Regions from separate parts of the Homo sapiens genome. Here all the other regions are linked to region 1. Evidence: promoter capture Hi-C in human tissues and cell types (Jung and others, 2019). All regions are on one chromosome and are shown on one strand. Each heading gives the region's core, a stretch centred on a gene start or on the middle of the fragment in contact. The rest is flanking DNA. Distances are from core to core; before and after follow the strand shown. Region 1 holds the start of CCDC88C (coiled-coil domain containing 88C). Region 2 overlaps FBLN5 (fibulin 5). Region 3 overlaps RPS6KA5 (ribosomal protein S6 kinase A5). Region 4 overlaps RPS6KA5 (ribosomal protein S6 kinase A5). Region 5 overlaps RPS6KA5 (ribosomal protein S6 kinase A5).

Region 1 (2,523 bases), core at 10-2,509:
CTTCAAACACCTACGAATGTCCAACAGGCACGTTAATACTGAGATACCAGCGTCTCCACCTTCAGAGAACTACCCCCCACCCCACACACACCCCGCCATGCAACCTTCCACTCCATTTCTACTCTCAAACTTTCTAACGCACCATTCTTTCCTTCCTCCGAGAAGAAGGTAACTTACATTTGCAGCATAATTTGGTTCAAAAAGATGCCGTCCACTAAATCCATGTACATAGTCAGGTTGTCCTGGCTGCCGCTTCCAAACGGGCCAAAAGTTTTCACCTGCGGGGAGGGGGACGAGGAGAGAAAGACAGGAAGTCACCCCGTGCGCACAAACGGTCCAAAGCTCTCCCAGGCAGAGACTGGACGGGTCAGTGTGAGCAGAAGGGGGTCACCCACGCCCACACCACCCTTCAGCAGGCACCAAGCCCGGCCTTCTCCTAGGGCCTGTCTCCCCTCCCCGCGCGGGGCAACAGACACGAGACAGGAGGAAAAACTTCCTCGCCACTTTTCTCCCGCGTTCCAGAGCGGAAGAAATAAAAATAAAAAGGACTTTTCAATAAATGTCTCACGTCTCAAATCCATTGTAAATCAGTGCGCCCACCCCAGTCTGTTCGCTTTCCCATTCGGCGCCCCCCATTCCCCACCCGTCACCGCCATCCACCGGCTGGTCTCAGGGATTCAGAAAAACTACATGAGATATTTGGTTGGGAAGAATGGGGTCCTTTTCGGGAGTGGCTAAACCCCAGGGACAGGAGTGACCACTGGGACCCGGTCCGCCCCGAGGCAGCCAGCCTAGAGCCCCAGCGGGAACAGGTGTACCCGCCCGGCTCCTGGCCCGGCCGAAAGCGCGGCGGGGTCCCGCGCCGGACGCACAACGGGGGCGCCGGCTCCAGAGTTACAAAGCTCCGGACTCCAGGACGCGGCCCCAACCCCGGCCGGGAGCCACTTGCTGCGTCCCTCGCGCCCCGGAGCCACCCGGGGCCCCGGCCGTGTCGGGTCTGCGGCGTCCCGTCGCCGGGCTAGAGAGAAGCCGGTGCACCAACAAAGGGGCGGGGAGCCAGGCGCACTCACCCAGGTCACCAGCGGGCTCTGCAGGAAGAGCTCCAGGAGCTCCGAGACTGTCACGTCCATGCTGAGGCTGCGCCCGCCGGCTCCGCGCCCCCCGCCCCGCGTCCCCGTTCCCCCGCGCCGCGGCACAAAACGGCTCCGCAGCGAGCAGCGGGCGCGGGGCTGCGGCGGCTCGCGCCCGGGAGACAAAGGCGGGGCGCGCGAGCCCACGTTCCGCGGCTTCGGCGGCCCCGCGCCCCGCCCGGGTCTGGGGGAAGGGGAGGGCCAGCCGCTCGGGGAGGAACAATACGGGCGGCCCCGCCCCTCGGCGGCCCTGGGCGACCGGCGCGCCGCCTCGCGGTGCCAGCCCGGGAGCCCGGGAGCCCGGGCGCGGGACCAGGCTACGCGGGGCGCTGGGAGGGGACTGGTGGCCCGAGGCGGGTGGGTCGCGGGGCCCGGCTCCCCGCCCGTGGGACCGCGCGCCCTCGCCGAGCGCAGCCTCCCCGCGTGTGGGGCCCCAGCACGTGGCGCATCCCTGCGCGCGTGCGCGTGCAGCCGGGGCCCGAGCGCCACGTGCGAGCTGGGGTGCGCGGGCACTGGTGCGTGCCGGGAGCGGGGACGCCCTGCCCTCCGAGGTTGCTCTGCCCTCCGAGGTCGCCCGCAGCTGCCGCCCGCTCTGGGCTTGGGGACCTCGGCCCTGCGCCTTTCCGCACTCCTGGCAGGTGCAGCCCCAGGTACAGTCAAGAGGCCCCGCAAACCCCCGCTCCTCACGCTTGTGCGCGGCGCGATAAACGCGCCCCGACCCTGGGGCTGGGCTGGAGGGCAAAGAAGAAACTTTATGTTGAGTTTAGGCCTTAGGGGCGCGGCCCCTCGCGCCCTACCGTGCCCCACCGTGCCATGTTCCGGGCTGCCTGCCTTCTAAAAGTTCCTGCAGGAAGCAGGTGATGTGGCCTCCCCGACCCGGGCCCGCCCCCACCACTTTGCCGGAGGCGAGCTAAATTCCAGCCGGGGTTCCTAGCAGCAGCTTAGTGGCAGGCGACAGGAAAAAGGGCAAAGGCCCCAACTGGCTGGAAGGCAAGCCCGGGGGCAGGACCTCCTTGCGGGACGGCACGAGGCAGGAGCCGGCTCCAGGCTGGTCTCGGCCTGGTAATAATTTCACACCACCAGCCGGTCATTGTTCAAAGCACTGTAGACCATTTTACTAATTTAACCCTAACGATCGCCGCATTTCGCAGCTGGGCCAACTGGTACAGGGTTGACCCGAAGGGCCCTGCGTGGCGCTTGGCAAGTATACAGCAGGCACTAAATGGCTGCCGACAGGCTCGGTGGTAATTTTGAAAGTTGGCTCTGTGCAGCGTTGGGGCTGCGGCATCTGCTGGTGGCGAGTGGTATTACAGCCCAGCGCTGGCGGACCCCGTTGGGCTGGGGAGGGTTGTGAGATTATGGCCTGAGAGCCAAGGGGGTCGGTTAGGGGTCC
Region 2 (2,523 bases), core at 17-2,516, 500 kb after region 1:
TAACGCCTGGTCAATAGATGTTCACTCAACTATCATTCAATTATATCAGCAAATACTTACTAAATGACATCTACATTCTTGGCATTGTGCTAGGCATTGTGGATACCAAAGTGAATAAATCATGAAGACCCTATGTCCTGATGACAACGCAATTAAGTTATAAATCAATAACAAAAAGATAATTTAAATCCCCATAAATGTGTAACATTCAGAAACTCACCACTAAATAAATCATGGATAACAAGAAGTGATTACAGGGAAAATTAAAAATTCTTACAACTTAATAGCAATAAATACCATACATCCAAACTTATAGGTCACACCAAAAAATATGTAGTCTTAAGTGCTGACTTAATGAAAGAAGAAAGGCTTACAGTTAATGAGCTAAGCAACCAGCTTAAGAAATTAGAAAAGGGGCCATGCACAGTTGCTCATATCTGTAATCCTAGCACTTTGGGAGGCCAAGGCAGGCAGATCACTTGAGCTCAAGAGTTCGAGACCAGCCTGAGAAACATGGCGAGGCCCTGCCTCTACATAAAATACAAATATTAGCTGGGCGCAGTAGCTCATGCCTGTAATCCCAGCACTTTGGGAGGCCGAGGCAGGCAGATCACGAGGTCAGGAGATCGAGACCATCCTGGCTAACACAGTGAAACCCTGTCTCTACAAAAATACAAAAAAATTTAGCCGAGCGTGGTGGCAGGCGCCTGTAGTCCCAGCTACTCAGGAGGCTGAGGCAGGAGAATGGCATGAACCCAGGAGGCGGAGCTTGCAGTGAGCCGAGATCATGCCACTGCACTCCAGCCTGGGCGACAGAGTGAGACTCTGTCTCAAAAAAAAAAAAAAAAAAAAAAAACAACAAATATTAGCTGGGCAGTATAGTACATACCTGTGGTCCCAGATACTTGAGGCCCAGGAGATCAAAGCTGCAGTGAACCATGATCATGCCACTGCATACAGCCTAGGCAACAGAATGAGACTCTCGAAAAAATAAAAAAAGAAAAAAATTTAAACAGAAACAAATCCAAAACATAGAAAGAAAAGAATAAAAAACAGGAATTGATGAAATAAAAGCAAAAGGAAAAGAAAGAGATCGGGGAGAGCAACAAAGCAAAATATTTCTTTTTGAAAACAGCAAACTGATATGACTCTGGCAATATCTGTGTGGTTTTTTTTTTTGTTTTGTTTTGTTTTGTTTTGTTTTTTGTTTTTTAATTAAAGAATTAACACAAGGCTGGGTGCAGTGACTCACACCTGTAATCCCAGCACTTTGGGAGGCTGAGGCAGGCAGATCATCTGAGGTCAGGAGTTTAAGACCAGCCTGACCAACATGGTGAAACCCCATCTCTACTAAAAATTCAAAAATTAGCTGGGTGTGGTGGCGAGCACCTGTAATCCCAGCTACTTAGGAGGCTGAGGCAGGAGAATCACTTGAACCCAGGGAGTGGAGGTTGCAGTGAGCCAAGATCGCACCACTGCACTCCAGCCTGGGCAACAGAGCAAGTTTCTGTCTAAAAAAATAAAAAATAATAAAAAAAAAAGAGTTAGCACAATATTGGGAATGAAAATACAACAGAACTACAAAGTCAGCAAAGATCAAATAGATAACACAAAGAATGGTAAGAAAAAGCTTATGCAAATGAAGCTAAAAACTTATTAAGTAGACAAGTTCTTAGAAAAAGGTAACTATGTAAAACTGACTTAAGAAGAAACAGAAAGTGCAAACAGTCCCCTAACTTTAAGAAATTATATCGTAGCGGCCAAGCACGGTGGCTCACGCCTGTAATCCCAGCACTTTGGGAGGCCAAGGCGGGTGGATCACGAGGTCAGGAGATCGAGACTATCCTGGCTAATATGGTGAAACCCCGTCTCTATTAAAAATACAAAAAAATTAGCCCAGGCGTGGTGGTGGGCACCTGTAGTCCCAGCTACTCAGGAGGCTGAGGCAGGAGAATGGCATGAACCCGGGAGGCGGAGGTTGCAGTGAGCCGATATCACGCCACTGCACTCCAGCCTGGGCGACAGAGCAAGACTCCATCTCAAAAAAAAAAAAAAAAAAAAAAAAAGAAATCATATCAGTAGCTAAAAATCTTCCCACTCACACACCCAAAAATACCAAATCTCAATGATCTTATAGGCAAATTCAAATAAACTTTCCATGAATTGAATTTGAATAAAATTTCCATGAATGACCTAAGGTTAGACCATTCTAACTTTCCAGAGAATAGAAAAGGAACAATATCTCACTCTATCAAGCTTATATGTGGACACCAAAACTAGTAAGAGTAATATTAAAAAAGAAATGTGGCAGGTCATTCTACTTTATAGACATTAATGACAAAAATCCTAAATAAAATGTTAGCCAAACAAATCCAGCAGTATATTGTAAACAAATCATACTATAACATGACCAAAGATAATGATGGTTACATATGGTAAAAATCTACCATTCTTTGCCTTTTATTTTTTGTTGTTCCTAAGGGCAGGATAACAAAGAACAGCTCAAAAGAATTCAGGTGGCCA
Region 3 (2,523 bases), core at 17-2,516, 490 kb before region 1:
ACAATAGCCAAGAGGTGAGAGCAATCCAAATGTCCATCAACAGATAAACGAATAAACAAAATGTGGCATATAAATACCATGGAATATTATTCAGCCTTAATAAAGAAGGAAATCTTGTCACATGCTACAGCATGCATGAACCTTGAGAACTATGCTAAGTGAAATAGTCACAAAAATAAAATAAATACTGTACAACTCCACTGACATGGGATATCATAAGTAGTCAAACTCACAGAAATAGAAAGTAGAATGGTGGCTGCTGGGGGTTAGGGGACGGGGGAAAAGGTATAGAGTTTTAATTTTGCAAGATGAAAAAGTGCTAGAGATCTGTTACATAACAAAATGAGTATTATTAAAGCTGCTGAACCATATATTCACAAACAGTTAAGATGGCAATTTTTGTTTTGTGTTTTTTTAACCACAATTAAAATTTTTTTAAAATTAAAAAAATAAGCCGTAAAAGAAAAGATTTAGTACATTGGATATTAAAATGTTAAATGGCAAAAAAGATCATTAAACAAAATTAAAAACAAGTTAAAATTTTAGAAAAGAAATTTACAAAACATATAGTTATAAAGGGTTGGTATCTATAATACTTAACGAACTCCAACAAATCAATAACATCAGGGGAAAAAATGCAACACTGTGATAGAGAAAACATAGAAACAACCTAAATGTACCTCAGTAGGAGAAAAGATAGACTGGATAACTAATATAAAGGATTATTACACAACAGTTAAAATAAATGAAACATCCCATTTATCAGCTTGGATAAATTTCAAGAATAGGTCAAATAAAAAACAATTTGCAATAGAATATGTCATGTATGTACATTTAAAAAACATGGTAATAGTATATATTGTTTACGGATATACACACATGAAGTAAGGGTACTAAAACACAATTAAAATTAATCCACCACATACTCTTTACCTGCACCAGTGCAGCTACACATTGTTGGAGAAAACCATATAATCAGGTTGGCCGATTTTATTCAATCATTCAATCATTCATTCATTCATTCATTCATTTGAGACAGGGTCTCATTCTGTCACCCAGGCTGGAGTGCAGTGGCATGATCTTGGCTCACTGCATCCTCTGCCTCCCGGATTCAAGCAATCCTCCCAGCTCAGCCTCCCAAGTAGCTAGGAATACAGGCACGTGCCACCATGCTCGGCTAATTTTTTTATTTTTTTATAGGAATGAGGTCTCACTGTTGCCCAACACTGTTCCCCAGGCTGTTGAGTCTCAAACTCCTGGGCTCAAGTGATCCTCCTACCTCGGCCTCCCAAAGTGCTGGGATTACAGGCATCAGCCCAGGCAATTTCACTTTAAATTCATGATCAGGAATCTCACATGGGTCTTAATAGTACCCAGCAAACACATTCATTTCCCTAATCCGTTCACTCTCCCACATTGTTAGTTGGTTATTTTATATCATCTCCTTTCTCCTAAAACCTCGATGTGTCCACTCCCTTCCTCATACTCAGTGAGAAAACAGAAGACCTTCTATAAGCTGCCAGTACACACCACTTAACCTCCACCCACATGTGTGCCTAGTAACTCAACTTTCTTCAGTTTCTAAGCATGAACTGACCATGCTACTCGTTAAGCACTAGTAGCATGATCACGCACAAACTCACTTGTGCGTTTGACATTATCCTTCTCAAGGACAGTGTTCCAGCAATTTCCCACTTTACCTGCTGTATTATTATAGGAGATAGATATCTGGGTTTGGGTGGTAGATATCAGTGTATCTACCCCACTTCCTTTTGAGGACTATTCTAACTAGTGTATGACATCTGTAATTTCTCCCATCTTAGGGGAAAAAACCCTCTTTTCATCCTCACTTCATCCTCTGCTATGCTCTTCACAGAATTTCACTATTCCTTTTAACAGAAAACCCCAAGTTGTCTACATATGTGGAAGACAATAAGGCTACTGCTATTCTCTTTCCTAAGGTTAAAACTGAGCCAATCAATGCTCAATCTTCAGTCCCCATCTTATTTAACCTAACAATAGCATTTGACACAGTTAATCATTTTCAACCTTGAAACATTTTTTCACTTGTCTTCTGAGACAATCCACCTTGTTTTCCAAATTCCAAATTCATAGATCCAGACCAGACTTCTCTCCCAAATTCCAGACTCATATAGCTCACTGCTTAACATCTCTGCTGTGTGTCTAATAAATGTCTCAAACTTAACCTGTCCAGCTGAACTTCTCCTCTTGTAACCCCAGATAGCTCCCCATCAGCAGCCTACCCCATATTAGTTGATGGAAATTTCATCCTTCCAGCTGTTCTGGCCAAAAACCTTGGGGCCACACTAGATTTCTTCTGAATTCTCATACCCCACATCTAACTCATCAAAAAATTCCATTAGATCTAATGTCAAAATAGTCCTAAAATCTGCTACTCCATAGTCTAGGCCAGTTCCATCTCTTGCTGGGATTACTTCAACAGTTTTCTATCTGGACCTCATGTTTCCACACTTGTCCCACTACAGGATTATCACAGTTATC
Region 4 (2,523 bases), core at 14-2,513, 430 kb before region 1:
AATATTGAGTACACATGGAAATAAAAATGGAAAGAATAGATACTAGGGCCTACTTGAGGGGAGAGGGTAGGAGAAGGGTGATGGTTGAAAAACTACATATAGGGTACTATGCTCACTACCTAGGTGACAAAATCATTTTTACACCAAACACCAGCGACAGGCAATTTATTCAGGTAACAAACCTGAACATGTACCCCCAAACCTAAAATAAAAGTTGGGGAAAAAAATAGAAAGTAGGCAGAATATCAGGGTAAGCTGGGCGAAAAAAGACAGGGGAAACTGAAAGCAAGGCAAGAATTTGGGCTTGAATAGTTAAATGGGAAAAAATGCAGTATATGTTCTTAAATAGAAAAACTGCACGAAAATGTTGTATTTTAGCAAGACTGTATATTACGTATAACAGCATATGATATTAAAATGCACAAATGGAAGAGAGCCTACAGAAAGGCAGACAGGTTAAGACACCCCTTGAAAGAATCCATGCATAAGGTAAAATGAGTGATGGCACTTTCCGTTCTTAGGCCCAGAAAAGGTAAATCCAAGGATCACTTTAAGGGGAAAATTATAGGACTTTGTGAGAAAATAGAAGTAAAGAGGCTGGGCTGGGCGCAGCAGCTGATACCTGTAATCCCAACACTTTGGAAGGCCGAGGCAGGTGGGTCACTTGAGGTCAGGAGTTTGAGACCAGCCTGGCTAACATGGTGAAACCCTGTCTCTACTAAAAATACAAAAATTATCCGGGCATGGTGGTGCACATTTGTAATCCCAGTTACTCGGGAGGCTGAGGCAGGAAAATAGCTTGAACTTGGGAGGCAGAGGTTGCAGTGAGCTGAGATCACACCACTGAACTTCAGCCTGGGTGACAGAGTGAGACTCCATCTCAAAAAAAAAAAAAAAAAAAGAAGAGAGATAAAGAGGTCAAAATAGATAGAGAAGAATCCAAAAAGAATCCAAAATTATTTAAAAGTTTCTAGCTCAGAAAACTGATCAAGGTTAGTGATAGGCCAAAGGAAACCAGATAGTTCAAGAGAAGCAAGTCAATCTGAGTAAAAAAGAGTTTTATGCATATTAGATGTATTTAAGTGTCAAAAAGTAAATCTTTGATATTCAAATATTCCACAGTCTTCAAGATATTTGATGAATAGCATTTTTTTCTAGTTTAAATATATAGAAATTAATTCATCAGAAGAGTTTTCAGTTTCATTTCCAAAGAAAACCTTACATGACACATGAAGACATCTGATGAGTCTTTCCTATTATTCTAAGTAGTGCTGAAAAAAATTTATCTTAAAAAGGTAATGAAACTGAAAGATTAGTGGTAAAATTTTTGAATAAAAATTGAGATTTTATTATATTCATTATAAAAGCTTCCACCTACTCCATTTAGTCATCAAAACTGTGATTTTTTAAAGGCAGATATACTTACAATGACATTTCTTAGTTATCCCATCTTCTCATAAGAGACTACACTGTCAGCTGGCAAAAAGGAAAAGCAGTCTCCATGGCTGACAACTGATCCATTATAAAACAGTGCACACACACAAAATGGAAATACAAAGGTAAAACATTACAGGTAAACTGTTTCCTTACCTTTACAGAATTGTCTTCAAGGCCTGTAACCAAACTACTCAGTGCAGATGTATAATAGATAATGAGTCAAAGTATTCAATGTGTTGAAAGAAAATACACACAAGGTTTGACTATATAAATTTGATATTAAAAATTTCACATATATAAAATGGGCTGATAATCTGCCTTCTTTATACTGTCCTAGTGTGTTTTTTGGAATCAAGGTTACACTGGACTCATACAATGAGTTGGAGGAAATAATCCCCCTTTTCCTGTTTTCTGAAAGAGTTTGTGGAAGATCAGAATTATCTATGCCTTGAATGTGTGGCAGAACTCATTCTTAAAACTGTACTGAGTGTCTTCCCAGCAAGAGGATTTTTGCTTACTGACCAATCTCTTTAACAGTTATAGGACTATGTAGGTTTCTCACACCTTTTTTCAATCAGTTTGGTAATTTACACATTTCAAGATTACTGTGCATGTTAAACTTTGAGGAACATTACTTCAGGAAACTAACTCCTGTCACCTCCCAAATTAAATGCTATTTTGTCCAATTTTTCAGTTTTCTTTTTTCAACTCCACAAATGAGACATCGTGACGAGAGCTTTACACAGTCAGTATGCTTTAGACTGTTTGTTCAGTAATTCTTTTTGCATCTCGGAAAATTCTCCAGGGATTATTTTCCTTCTTCCTAAAACTACTTCTTTTAAAATTCTCATAGGGGACCTATTGGTAGAAAACTCACTCAGCTTTTGTATGTTTGAAAATGTTGGCTGGGCGTGGTGGCTCACACCTGTAATCCCAACACTTTGGGAGGCCGAGGTGGGCAGATCATGAGGTCAGGAGTTCGAGATCGGCCTGGCTAATATGGTGAAACCCCATCTCTACTAAAAATACAAAAATTAGCCAGCCATGGTGGCATGAGCCTGTAGTCCCAGCTACTCAGGGGGCTGA
Region 5 (2,523 bases), core at 16-2,515, 390 kb before region 1:
CAGAGAACCCCAAAAGGCTCCAAATTATAGAAGCACCTGTAATCACCAAAGGCAGAGGACTGGGGAGGGCAAGATAAAGAATGCAAACAGGGGAAATGTCTGAAACGGATTTAAGGAGTTTTATTCCCCAAGTCCTCACACTCGTAACACTTAGGATTAATAATTTCCTGGGAGAAGAACCAGATTTGGGGTCACTGGGTATAGAGAGAAGCAAGGATGAGGTAAGAACGGAAAATGCAGAATAATATATAAGTCTACACACGCGCTGTTGGTTTCAGAAAGCAGAGAGCCAGGCTAATGTTCCCCAAGAAGTCCAGAGGATCCTTTTATGGAAAAATGAACAAACTTGGGTAAAAGTTGTTGATATTGACATATGGAGCTCCCGGTGAAAAACTATACCATGTAAGCCTCCAGCCAGCAAGACAGAGTTTCTAACCAGCATTTTGGTGTCTTATTCACATTAACAGTCAAGGATCACCAGACAATTGAGAGAAATCCCTAACATGCAAGACACCAAAATAAACAGAAAAAAAAAAAAAAAAAAAAAAAAAAAAGGAAGTTCAGAAGAAAGAGAGGCAACCCAGGGTACTAGGAAAATAACTTCATAAAAAGTATAATTATCCTTAAGGAGGTATATAGTTCAACCATAAAATAGAAAAAGAGAGCAATTAAGAAGAAATAAAACAAAAAATCAAGCTCTTAGAAAACTTTTAAATCTGTATAGGGGGAGCCTATTAAAGGTCTAGATAATAAAGTTAAAGAAAGAGACCAAATGTAAAGTAAAGATGCAAGGAGATAAACAACAGGAGATTAAAAAAATTTAAAAACACAGAATAATCTTGGAAATCCAGTATCTAAGAGAATTTTAGAAAAAGTGAACAGAAGAACCCAGAGGAGGACTAATTCAAAAAATATCCCCAGAACTAAAGGAGTTTTAATGGGCATACTCAGTGCTTAGCAAATAAATTTTAAAATATAAATGTAAAATTCCAAAATTCCAAACCAGGGATAAAGAGAGGATCCTAAAACCTTCCAGAGATTTTAAAAAATAGGTCACATACAAACCACTGGAAATAAGAATGGTATCAAACTTCTCATCAGCATCATTAGAAGCTAGAAGACAATGGGATAATGCCTTCAAAATCCCAAGTAACAATTCAATCTACAACTTTAAACCAAGCAAACCTGTCACAAATATGAGAACATAATGAAGACATTTTAATATCTGAAAAAGCTTTTCCAAAAAAAAATCTCCTATGCAAGCTTTCTCAGCAATCTACTGGAGGATGCGCCACAGATATAATACTAAAAAAGAGGACAGCCATTGGATCCAGGAAACAGGATTAAGCACATAATTCCCAGGATGATAGTGAAGGAAAATCCCATTATGACAGTTACACAAAGTTGAGAAAGAAACCAATCCAGAATGGAAGAGACGGAACAGAGTTCCACAAAGGACTGTCTTTAAGAAAAAAAGAACTCATGGGTTATCTAACCTATAGAAAATCATAATGAAAAGTATTTTATAAAGCTGTTAAAACATGTAGAAACACTTAGAGACTCAAAGAAAGCTAAGTGAATGAAAAGACTGGGGTAATTTAACTCCAGGAAAAACAACCAAAAAAAACTTATTTAAGGAAGGAAAAAAAACATAAAACACTTGGCCCCACAATGAATATTTATATAGCCATTAAAAACTGAATGTGGATTCAACCAAAATTATAATATAACTTCATTAAGTAGACAGGCAGGGAAATAAAACAGGTCTAAAATTGATGACTCAAGAGTTTTAAAATGCCACTTGAAATTGGTAGAAAATATTAGAAAAGAGTAGAAACTGGGAATAAAATCCCTCTTGTACTATTTGACTAAGTATTTATATGGATCGTTTTAATAAAAATTTTAAAATTAAACAAAGAATATTTATTGAGTACTCTTTGCGGGCGACATTATAGGCAGGTCCACTTAAACACCGTTCTCACCATTCTCAACTACCTTCTCCCCTTGGGAAGCTCAATATCTGATTTCATAGCCTCCCTTGCAGAATGATGACCATGTGATACCATGTGACCAAAAATTCAACATACAGAAAAGTCTAGTAAAGAGGATTTCAAAACCTACATTAGAAACTGTTTTCCTCTTCTCCCATATTCTTTTGTGAATGTGAATAATCAATGAGGGCAAAAGCTAAAACACATTTAAGCCTGCCAGAGCAGAAAGAGTCTAGATTCTTAGGGGCTTGGGCTTCCTGGCTCCAGACTCCCTGTTATGCAAGGATTTTAAAAATCCTTTTTAGTTAAGCCACTGTAGTTGAGTTTTCTTACTTGCAGCTAAACACGCACAGTTACTATGACAGACACTGGGAAACAAAGATGATGAAACAGTTCCTCCCCACAAAGCACACTATCTGCTAGAGTGAACGGAATCAATTAAAAAAAAACTATAATACCTAACTATGCACTACAGCCAAAATGTGGTGCTGCATGAATTCCAAAGAGGCAGGGGCAACACATCTAGTTGGAA

Evidence for each region. The method cuts DNA at HindIII sites, captures the fragments that hold promoters and counts their contacts. A contact is called where the count stands out against the background at its distance.
Region 2: a contact is called between a fragment that was not itself captured here and the fragment with the promoter of CCDC88C in region 1, in 1 of the 25 tissues and cell types used here (hippocampus).
Region 3: a fragment that was not itself captured here is called in contact with the fragment with the promoter of CCDC88C in region 1 in 1 of the 25 tissues and cell types used here (lymphoblastoid cells).
Region 4: a fragment that was not itself captured here is called in contact with the fragment with the promoter of CCDC88C in region 1 in 1 of the 25 tissues and cell types used here (lymphoblastoid cells).
Region 5: a contact is called between a fragment that was not itself captured here and the fragment with the promoter of CCDC88C in region 1, in 1 of the 25 tissues and cell types used here (bladder).

The regions. Positions count from the first base shown.
Region 1 is chr14:91,416,561-91,419,083 of GRCh38, forward strand. CCDC88C (coiled-coil domain containing 88C) reads right to left here and starts at 1,260. Exons shown (of 30, transcript NM_001080414.4): 1 at 1,071-1,260; 2 at 178-278. The coding sequence starts at 1,130. It overlaps CCDC88C-DT (CCDC88C divergent transcript), which reads left to right and starts at 1,686. Exons shown (of 3, transcript NR_184261.1): 1 at 1,686-1,780. It also overlaps the pseudogene LOC112268126. RefSeq lists enhancers at 1-135, 1,741-2,385 and a silencer at 756-1,675. The HindIII fragment of the contact is 13,115 bases long and covers 1-2,523 here.
Region 2 is chr14:91,913,646-91,916,168 of GRCh38, forward strand. The region is part of intron 4 of FBLN5 (fibulin 5); the gene reads right to left. Among named protein-coding and RNA genes, the nearest start is that of FBLN5, 33 kb to the right of the region's middle. The HindIII fragment of the contact is 4,313 bases long and covers 1-2,523 here.
Region 3 is chr14:90,931,110-90,933,632 of GRCh38, forward strand. All of the region lies in intron 5 of RPS6KA5 (ribosomal protein S6 kinase A5), which reads right to left. Among named protein-coding and RNA genes, the nearest start is that of LINC02321, 100 kb to the left of the region's middle. The HindIII fragment of the contact is 5,911 bases long and covers 1-2,523 here.
Region 4 is chr14:90,990,820-90,993,342 of GRCh38, forward strand. All of the region lies in intron 2 of RPS6KA5 (ribosomal protein S6 kinase A5), which reads right to left. Among named protein-coding and RNA genes, the nearest start is that of RPS6KA5, 69 kb to the right of the region's middle. The HindIII fragment of the contact is 3,689 bases long and covers 1-2,523 here.
Region 5 is chr14:91,030,086-91,032,608 of GRCh38, forward strand. All of the region lies in intron 1 of RPS6KA5 (ribosomal protein S6 kinase A5), which reads right to left. Among named protein-coding and RNA genes, the nearest start is that of RPS6KA5, 29 kb to the right of the region's middle. The HindIII fragment of the contact is 5,621 bases long and covers 1-2,523 here.